Regions from separate parts of the Homo sapiens genome. Here region 1 is linked to region 2. Evidence: promoter capture Hi-C in 16 types of primary human blood cells and fetal thymus (Javierre and others, 2016). All regions are on one chromosome and are shown on one strand. Each heading gives the region's core, a stretch centred on a gene start or on the middle of the fragment in contact. The rest is flanking DNA. Distances are from core to core; before and after follow the strand shown. Region 1 overlaps LASP1 (LIM and SH3 protein 1). Region 2 holds the start of FBXO47 (F-box protein 47).

The links. The method cuts DNA at HindIII sites, captures the fragments that hold promoters and counts their contacts. A CHiCAGO score of 5 or more calls a contact.
Region 1: a fragment that was not itself captured here is called in contact with the fragment with the promoter of FBXO47 in region 2 in 3 of 17 cell types (total CD8 T cells, naive CD8 T cells and naive CD4 T cells); the score reaches 6.5 in total CD8 T cells.

What each region holds. Positions count from the first base shown.
Region 1 is chr17:38,871,673-38,876,672 of GRCh38, forward strand. All of the region lies in intron 1 of LASP1 (LIM and SH3 protein 1), which reads left to right. Among named protein-coding and RNA genes, the nearest start is that of LASP1, 4.1 kb to the left of the region's middle. RefSeq lists an enhancer at 1-249. The HindIII fragment of the contact is 631 bases long and covers 1,615-2,245 here.
Region 2 is chr17:38,964,383-38,969,656 of GRCh38, forward strand. FBXO47 (F-box protein 47) reads right to left here and starts at 3,021. Exons shown (of 11, transcript NM_001008777.3): 1 at 2,847-3,021. The HindIII fragment of the contact is 5,025 bases long and covers 2,411-5,274 here.

The DNA of each region.
Region 1 (5,000 bases), core at 680-3,179, 94 kb before region 2:
GAGGAGGTGGGGTTGGAGGTTCTGAAAGATATTTGAACTTGCTCTTGGGGAGTGTGGGCATATGGGGCCGCTGCTGTGTCACTGTTCCTCCTGGTCCTGGGCTTGACTGGGCAGGAGGAGAGGAGGGGGTATATTGTGGGCACGAGGAAAGTTGTTGATCTCCCCATGACCATGCCAGCCGCTGTTGGGCAGGACTTGAGCTTAGAGCTATCAGATAATGAAGTCTCCCCTTGAGAATGTACCTGTCCTTGCACACTGGGGTTTCGCCCGCCCCTCGTGGCAGAGATTTTGGCCTCTGCATCTTGAGTTCCCTGTGGTCCCCTTCTTCTCCACAGTCATGAATTGGGAAGAGGCAGTGGGCACTTGACCCGTATAAGGAAAAAGCAAAACATGAAGGCAGGATTGCCACTCCAGGAGTTGGGAAACTGGGTCCTTGTTCCAGGTCTGCTCCCACCAGTTTTATGAATGTCTCTAGGCCTCAGTATTCACCATCTGTCAGATGGGTATGATGATGTCATTTCCTTAAAGGTGGGGCAGTGCACTAAAGTCCCTGAGTGCTAAAGAGGGTGCTGTATAGACTATGCCCTCCCTACCTCTCTGGGATGCTCTGTTCAGCTCCACACCACTCCCCTTGGAAAGACCTTCAGTGCCGTGTACCCGAGGGGAGGGGAGCAGGGATGGGCAGGGTGCCCTCCCCAGTTCTCTTACCCTAGCTGGAAGAGGACGTTCAAGTGGGGGTTGCCCAGGGAAGTGGGAGTTGGTGATTCCTTCCTCTTTTTAGAACTCTCCCTATAGGAAGTGGCCCTGGAGAGACCTCGCCCCCTGTACTGAGCAGGAGACCTGAAATATCCAGGTATCAGACCTATTCCTCTCCACCTGCTCCAGGCAGTAAGGATAGGACCAGGAATGGGGAGCCAGTGCCTGGAGGATGCTGGGCTGTGACCAGGGAGGAGGGGAAACCTTCAGTCCCATAGGCAGCTTCAGTCCCATAGTTGCTAACCAACTTCCCAAGGCCTCCCATTTACAGCAAAAGAGTCAAATTAGACTCACCCGTTTCTCTACAATCCCCCATGGTACTCAGCCCACTACGTGGCCCAAAGCACAGGGTGTGTCCTTGGTTTCAGCCTTTTCTCCTCCCTGAGCCTTATCTCCCAAAGGCATAGGTGGGTAAAAACCTTGTCACCTCTGAAGGCCACCCTGCCCCCAACCTGCAGTACCCAGCATGCTTTGCAAGCTGGATAAATATGTATTGCTGATGACAGTGTTTGAGGAAGGAGGTCGAGATTTGCTTCTCCAGAGGACTTCTGGGATTAGAGCTGGGGGAGAAACAGGGTGACCTCATTTGCTCATTCAACAAATATTTATTGAGCACCTACTTTGTGCACCTGCTTTGTATCTAGGGAGCTGTGTTGTCAAGAACCTCGCCACGTCCCTCTTTCCTGGCTTGCTTCCCCAGGTTTCTGAAAACAGGTGGAGGTAGAGGATTGGTCTGCTGCCAGTTCCCCTGGAATCCCCTGTTAGGGTGGGCTCTCTGCCTCTGCTTGTCTCAGCGCTCCCTCCCCACTCGAGGGGGTTGAAGTCCTCACAGCTGTGGTGCCCCGTTTTGCTAGCTGAAGCTTAGAGTACCCCACCATCATCTTGTGACCATCCCTTCATAATAGCTACTAGTTATCACGATATGCTGGGCTCAGTCTTCACAGCAGCCTCACAAAGTAGGTGTATTCGCTCTTGTAAACGATGCACTCCATAAATGGAGGCTCAGGTAGCCCATGTGGCTCATCTCCCTCTCTTAGAGCTGAAATTCACATCCACAGTTCTTTCTGCTCAGCTCTTCTGCCAGTGTGTTTGCAGAAAGTACTTTTATTTATACATATTTATATTTTATTTACATCTCATTTGTGCCAAAAGTAGGTCCCATCCCTTCCTGACCCTATCTGGAGGAATGCTCTGGGCCTGGGGTCTTGTATGGGGGCGTGGGGCCACTGGGAATAATCCTGTCCTCCTCGGAATTTGTGGAGGTGCAGCAAAGATCTATGCCTTTAAGCCAGCGGGTCAGGTGGCCAACCAAGCTAGGCTGGTGCCCCGGCCAGGGTGGGGCTGGCATTGCCTCTGCAGGAGGGAGAAACTGTAACCCTGGGCAACAGGAAGGGAAGAGATGGTCTCATAATCCATCCCTGAGTCATGGCCACCCCAGGTAGCCTGGGTTCAGAGGCCAAGGTGCCAGGCTGCAGGCACAGTGACACGAAGCTTGCCACATCCCCCCCAACCCAGAGCCACAGAGGGACAGGCTGTCCCAAGTGAGGGGTATCCTTGCAGGCTTCTGCCCCTACCAGCCTGTTTACCTTTCTTTAGAGTGGGTTGCAGGTAGGCAAGGGAAGATCAAGATGACCCTGCCTTGGAGCCTCGGATCCAGGCTGAGAGGCCTCTAACAGGCAGCAGAGGTAGGGTCTGTCTGGTTTCTGTGAACAGGGAAGCCATGGACTTTGCAGGCAGCAGGAAGGGGCAGAGGTGCATGCCTCGAGGTGCAGTTTCCTTGAGTCCTGAGGCCCAGGAATGCTTCGCTGAAATCATCTTGCCTGGGGCCTTTAAAAGAGGGGGGCTCTTGCTCTGGGACAGAGCCCATGGGGCAGGGCAGAGGCAGACGGGGTCACTGTGGGGTCCTCTGGACATATTTCCCTGACAGTGTCCTTCCCCAGACCCCATTGAGACAAGGCAGGAGTTCTTTCATCTTAGGGTCCAGGCTTGGCTCACAGCGGTTGTGGAGGGACTGGCCATTTTCTGCCTCCCCTCCCCACAATTTTCCTACCCCAAAAAGGACACAGTGGAAGGAGCTGGTGGGTTTTCTTGAACCTTGGGGCCTTCCTCCAGAGAGGGTAGGGGAGTCGCCTGAAGCTGCTGGAGGTGCCAAGCATTAGGGGTGGAACGGCCTCCTCTCCTGACCTTCCAGCACTCTGGGAGACAGTGGCTGCAGCTCCACTTGACACTTGTGCTTCATAGTAACTGGTTTCCATGTTTCTGCTCAGAGCCCCCTGCAGGGGGACAGGCGACCACCCTCCTCTGCCCCACCCTTGGGTGTCTGGATGAGAGTGTGGGGCCTGTGAGGGAGGTGGGAAGGAGCTACTGATAGAAATAGGTGCCATCCCCTAGAAGAGGGGCTCTGCTTCCTCCGCGTGGCAGCCTGGAGGGGTCTTTGGAACCACTGGGTCCAGTGTTGGCCCTGTGCCCCCTGCCTGCTCAGTACACCCCACCCTCCTTCTCCAAGGGGCTTGGCTCCGGGTGCAGGCCTGGCCATCTGGAGTAGGGGTCTCTCTCCCTTTGTCTCCCCAACGTCAATCAGGAGGCAGCCTTGGAGGTCCGTGGTCCTAGGACAGTGTGTAGCCCTTCGTGTGTGTGTGTGTGTGTGTGTGTGTGTGTGTGAGAAAGTGGGTCATGGTCTGGATTCTGGAGAATGTTTTTCCTGGCAGGCCCCTGTGGGGGTAGGGGGAGGCAGGGGCCCAGGCAGGGGCCTAGGCAGGGGCCTGTGCAGCTAAGTAGGCAGAGGCCAGCAGACTGGGTGGTGACCAGGCTGGGGCACCCTGCCAATGCCTCCCAGTTACTCGGGGAGGGAGTGGGGCTGTCACTTCAGGGGCCTGTGGGGGCAGGGACCAGCCTGTCTTAGTGTCCCTGGTGGGTTCTGTGTGTTGGGGTATGCACCACTTCAGGGGCCTGTGGGGGCAGGGACCAGTCTGTCTTAGTGTCCCGGTGGGTTCTGTCTATTGGGTTATGCACCAGAAGGAGTCTTTAAGTTGCCTCATAGGAGTTTGGGGGCCCTGGGTCACTGGGATAGGCCCAGGTTGGGGAGGGGGCCAAGCTTAGACCCGCCACTTCTTTGCTTCCAGACTTCCGGCTGGCCGTCCTCCCCAAGAGTGGTTCTCCTAGCATTCTGTTTAATATTCCACCATTAGGTTTTTCCTTTGGGTCTTCTTGATAGGGAACCAGTACCCTATTAGAAGGTGATTTCCCCCTGAAATTACCCTGGGGGTCTCTGGTTGAAGTGGGCCATGGTAGGGAGGTTGAATCCCAGATTCTCAGCCTTCTTTCTGCTATCCCCTCCTCCCAGTGTCTCAGAAGCACCTCTCCCTCCGGGGGTTTGGAGACAACATTTTGAAAAGCATCGCCTTGGGGGAATTCCTTGACAAATGGCCAAGAACCAGCTCTGTGGCTGGGCTCCTTCAAAAGTCCCCCTGGGCCTGCCTCCTGGCCTCCTTCTTTTGGAATGGGGAATGTCTCCCTTGACTACTGGGAAATGGGGCAGGGACAGGCCAGCCAGGTCACTCAGGTGGCCTGGATTATTCTGGGGTCCTGGCAGTGGACCCCTGTTTGGTGGTGATCCAGCACATCATCCTGGGCTTCTGGGGGTGAATTTAGATCCTGTTGTCATGGGTTTGCCTAAGCATCAATACTTCTCAGGGGTTCCACAAAGACCCCTCCAGGCTGCCACGTGGAGCCTGTTAGATCGTTTCTCTTTTTTTTTTTTTTTTTTTTGAGACAGAGTCTTGCTCTGTCACCCAGGCTGGAGTGCAGTGGCACAATCTTGGCTCACTGCAACCTCCACCTCCTGGGTTTAAGTGATTCTTTTGCCTCAGCCTCCCAAGTAGCTGGAATTACAGGCATGCGCCACCATACCCGGCCTATTTATTTATTTATTTATTTATTTATTTATTTTTGAGATTAAGTCTCGCTCTATACCCCAGGCTGGAGTGCAGTGGCATGATCTCAGCTCACCGCAATCTCTGCCTCCTGGGTTCAAGCGATTCTCCTGCCTCAGCCTCCCGAGTAGCTGGGATTACAGGCACGCCGTCACTGCACCCGGCTAATTTTTTTGTATTTTTAGTAGATACGGGGTTTCACCATGTTGGCCAGGCTGGTCTTGAACTCCCAACCTCCAGTAATCCGCCTGCCACAGCCTCCCGAAGTGCTCGGATTATAGGCGTGAGCCACCGCTCCCGGCTAGATCTGTT
Region 2 (5,274 bases), core at 1,771-4,270:
GTCAGGAGTTCGAGACCAGCCTGGCCAACATAGCGAAACCCCGTCTCTACAAAAAATACAAAAATTAGCCAGGGATGGCAGTGTGCACCTGTAATCCCAGCTACTTGGGAGACTGAAGCAGGAAAATTGCTGGAACCTGGGAGGCGGAGGTTGCTGTGAGCCCAGCTAATCTGAAGGCTGAGGCATGAGAATCGCTTGAACCCGGGAGGCGGAGGCTGCAGTGAGCTGAGATCATGTCATTGCACTCCAGCCTGGGGCAACACAGTGAGACTTGGTCTCGAAAAACAAACAAACAAACAAACAAAAAATAACAATAATAATAATAGTCACTGATGAATCTTAGAAAGGGCCTACGCATCTTGATTTCAAAGACAAATATTTCTTAAACTCATTAAATGCAACTTATTAAAATCACTGATTATTTACTTACACTAAATAATTTTTTTTTTAGACAGATTATCGCTCTACTGCCCGGGCTGGAGTGCAGTGGCATGACGCGATCTCAGCTCACTGCAACCTCCCCCTCCCAGGTTCAAGTGATTCTCCTGCCTCAGCCTCCCAAGTAGCTGGGATTACAGGCGTGTGCCACCACTAGTAGCTGGGATTACAGGCGTGTGCTACCACACTCAGCTAATTTCTGTATTTTTAGTAGAGACGGGGTTTCACCATGTTGGTCAGGCTGGTCTGGAACTGCTGACCTCAGGTGAGCCACCAGCCTCAGCCTCCCAAAGTGCTGGGATTACAGGCGAAAGCCACCACGCCCGCCCATTACACTAAATAATTATTTAAACATGTGTACCACACAGCGACTTTGTGTCACTCTATTGTTCTAATTCAGAAAACAATGTCTTTTGTGTATACATATACATATACGCATAATTACAACTCCAATCGAAGGCTCCTTGTTTCTGAAGTAACAACTAAGACATTTTCATCAAAGATATATAATTGTATCTGGCCAAAATGCATTTTCTCCTTTCTACAAATTGCTAAAGTAACATTGTTACTTATACATCTTGAAATGTTACATATCAACTTACATCAATTTAAAATTGGTTACACATTTGAAAACATAACAAAGAAATTTAGTGTTTAGTGAAAAGTACACTCTGAACCTCCTTTGAAACCATACCACAGCGATTGGGGTCAGTATTCAGTGAACACTTAAATTAGGAGGTATTTTAAAATTATCATTAAAATTACACAAATAGGCCGGGCATGGTGACTCACGCCTTAATCCCAGCACTTTGGGAGGCTGAGGCCGGTGGATCACGAGGTCAGGAGATCGAGACCATCCTGGCTAACACGGTGAAACCCCTTCTCTACTAAAAAAAAAAAAAAAAAAAAAAAATTAGCCGGGCATGGTGGCACGCGACTGTAGTCCCAGCTACTCTGGAGGCTGAGGCAGGAGAATCGCTTGAACCCGGGAGGCGGAGGTTGCAGTGAGCCGAGATCACACCACTGCACTCCAGCCTGGGTGACAGAGCAAGAATCTGCCTCAAAAAAAAAAAAAAATAATTACACAAATAACAACTTTACACAATACAGCTAAACAAGAAGAAAAAAATTAAGTTCACTTATAAACACTTTGGTTTATATAATTTCAGACTTTTACATACATATATTTCTTTTTAACAAAAAAGAGGGATCACTATATATAATACTTTGTAATCTGCTTTTTTCAATGAATTCTCTTTCCATGCTAATAACCTTCTACAAGTAATCATATTTTAATGGCTATGTGTCATTCCACCAAGTAAAATAATCTTAATTTGTTTAATCCATAAGGCTGTTTGTAACCTTAACTTTTCACAGTAGGCGTTTTGTTTGTTTGTTTGCGATGGAGTTTCGCACAGTCTCCTGGGCTGGAGTGCAGTGGCGCGATCTCGGCTCACTGCAAGCTCCGCCTCCCGGGTTCAAGCGATTCTCCTGCCTCAGCCTCCCTAGTAGCTGGGATTACAGGTGCCCGCCCCCACGCCCAGCTAATTTCTGTATTTTTAGTAGAGACGGGGTTTCACCGTGTTAGCCAGCCTGGTCTCGATTTCCTGACCTCGTGATCCGCCTGCCCCGGCCTCCCAAAGTGCTGGGATTTACAGGCGTGAGCCACCGCACCCGGCCAACACAGTAGGTGTTTTAAAGCATTTTTATTACAATAGCATAAATCCGGCCTTGGCTTCTTCCTGTTTCTCTGAGAAATGTGGACAGTGGGGCTTGGGCCCGTGGGCTCTTCAAAGACTGTCAGTCACCAGGCGGGGACTTCACTGTGTCAACTGTGAACTACATACATGTTTAAAATAAATATAAACAAAAATTTAAAAATGATAAGCCCAAATTCTTCTAAAACTCAAGTCTCCACTTATAGTTCCTTATTTTCCTCACTCAGAGCTGGACGTTTCGTAGGGAAAAAGCAAGCTTTTGTGAAAATTCTAAAGGTATAATCCTAAATTATTTCTGGTTTCCGCTCACCCCTCTAGCGAATAAGAATCACAGCCCCAAATAATAATAATAAAATGATGTTTCATGCCCCCTGTTCTATCCCACTAATTTTGACCGCGCGTGAAAGGTTTTGAGGGTTCAATTGGATGAACCTCCCCGCCCCCCACACCTTTAAGATAAAAACTACATTCACAGGGATGTCTGTTTTAACATAAAACTCTTGTAAGGGCCCCACCCCATCTGTCGGGCAGCTGCCCCCAAACATCTCCAAAGCCGCAAACTAGGGAAGCCTAAAGGACAAACTGGTCAACAGGAGAATCAGACCACACGGGGTACATGTTTCGCTCCCTTCAGTCCATGAAAGATGAAATTATCGCAATAAAATACTGGGAAAAAAAACCCTCTTTTACCACAGATTTTGACAGTTTTTCCGGCTACAGAGTCACAGGAAAGTGGGAGTTAGTCGTTTTGCCCCACCATCCTCAAATTTCTTAGTGTTTAGAAAAGAAAATATCTCCTCAAGAGCTTCCCGCCAGGAGGCGAGAGGGTCACACTCCCGTAGGCTCCGGAGCTGCAGCCCTACCCACCAGGCGTCCCCGCGGCCTCTAGAATATTGTAGAATCTTCCCAAGAGCCCCCGCGGGAAGGAGGCCCGCCCCCTCATGAATAGCAAGCAGCCTCAGCTCTCGTAGTGCCCGCCTCCCTCATGAATATTGTAGATCTTCCCAGAAGCCCTAGCGGGAAGGAGGTTCCCCCCCGCCTCCCGCCTCCCCGCTTTATGAATAGCAAGAGAGCCAGCTCCCATGGTGCCCTCCGTCTCATGAATAACTAACAAGGGCGAGGTTCCTGGAGCCCAAACTCAGGCCTCAGCCACCCTTCGCTCCAAGCTGAAGACAAGAAGGGGCTGGAGCCGTTACGGTGTGGGGAAGGGGAGGGTGTAGCCCAAGATCCTGAACGTGGCGAGCCACGTCTCTGCTCCACTGCCTTTCCCTTCACCTAGTTTTGAGACAATTTTTGAGTTCCTCCCACCCCCACTGACTCCAGTAGGGCAAGTTACAAGGGGTTTCATCAAACCTTTTGGTGGAAAAAAACCTCCAGACATTCCTTTTTAAATTTGTCTTGCCGGTGCGGTGGCTCACGCCTGTAATCCCAACACTTTGGGAGGCCGAGGCGGGAGGCTCCCTTGAGTCCAGGAGTTTGAGACCAGCCTGGGCAACATAGGGAGACCCCCACCCCCAGCCATAACCCCGCTCCCGGTCTCTAAATAAACACATAAATAATAAATCTGTCTGGAATCAAAGGAAGATGTGTGTCTCCATCCTCTCAAGATGAAATCAAGACAAATCTTTCTAGCTAGGCCTTCCTGGCTAGAAGATTAAATTCTCATTCATTCATTTCTTCATTCATTCTGTAACTATTTATTGAAGCCTGCTCTGGGCCGGGCACAGGAGTAGGCCCTAAGGATGGAATAGAGAACAAGACAGATACGTTTCCTGCTTTAATGGAGTTTATTAGCCTAATGGGGAAGATAGAATGAACAGACAGAGCATCTACAGATGTTGAGAGCAGTTCCGGTGAGAGCAGCGTGACAGAGGAAATAAGACAGAATGATGGGGTGTGTGTGTGTTGGCGGAGAGCTACTTTAGATAGACTGATACTCAAGGTCCCTTTGATATGACGATTTGAGAACTGATGGAGGAGAAGGAGCCAGTCAGGAGAAGGGCTGAGGGAAGAGGGAATGGGGGAAAGATTCTACTTTTGTAGATCAATTCTACATTATACCCAACACAAAATATATAAGGAACTACATAAAGACTGAGTGGAAATTTAGGATTAGTTGGCATGCTGTTATTTTATATAGTCACATATATTCATCCATTTGGCTTTGTATCTTTTTTTTTCCTGACCTCAGGTGACCTGCGTACCTCAGCACTGCAAAGTGCTGGGATTACAGGTGTGAGCCACCACTCCTGGCCTTTTTTTTTTTTTTTTTTTTTTTTGAGACAGAGTCTTGCTCAGTCGCCCAGGCTGGAGTTCAGTGGCACGATCTCGGCTCACTGCAGCCTCTGCCTCCTGGGTTGAATTGATTATCTTGCTTCAGCCACCCAGTAGCTGGGACCACAGGTGGGCACCACCATTGTATTTTTAGCAGAGATGGGGTTTCGCTATGTTGCCCAGGCTGGTCTTAAACTCCGAGGCTCAAGCGATCTGCCTGCCTCCCAAAGTGTTGGGATTAAAGGTGTGAGCCACCGGGCCCAGCCCTGGCTTTGTATCCTTTTGCAGCCAATTCTTTTTTTTTTTTTTTTTTTTTTGAGATGAAGTCTGCCTCTGTTTCCCGGGCTGGAGTGCAGTGGTGTGATCTTGGCTCACTGCAACCTCCACCTCCCAGATTCAAGTGATTCTCCTGCCTCAGCCTCCCAGGTAGCTGGGATTACAGGCACCCACCACCATGCCCAGCTAATTTTTTTGTATTTTTTAGTAGAGATGGGGTTTCACCATGTTGGCCAGGCTGGTCTTGAACTCCTGACCTCAGGTGATCCACCCACCTCAGCCTGCCAAAGTGCTGGGATTACAGGCTTGCGCTACCGTGCCCAGCTGCAGACAATTCTTTTTTTTCCCCCTGTCTCCAACATTGATTAGAGGTCCTTGACCAAGTATCATCCCGTTGGCAGTGGGCCAGACGCACATAATGGAAACAAGGATCCTTAGTGGTGAGAATTTAGCTTTTACTCAAAGTGTCATGGGAAGTGTCATGGGAAGTCCTTGAAGAGTTTTAAGCAGAGAGTGCTATGATCTGATTTACATCATTAAAAGATTGCTCTGGCTTTTATGTGGAGAA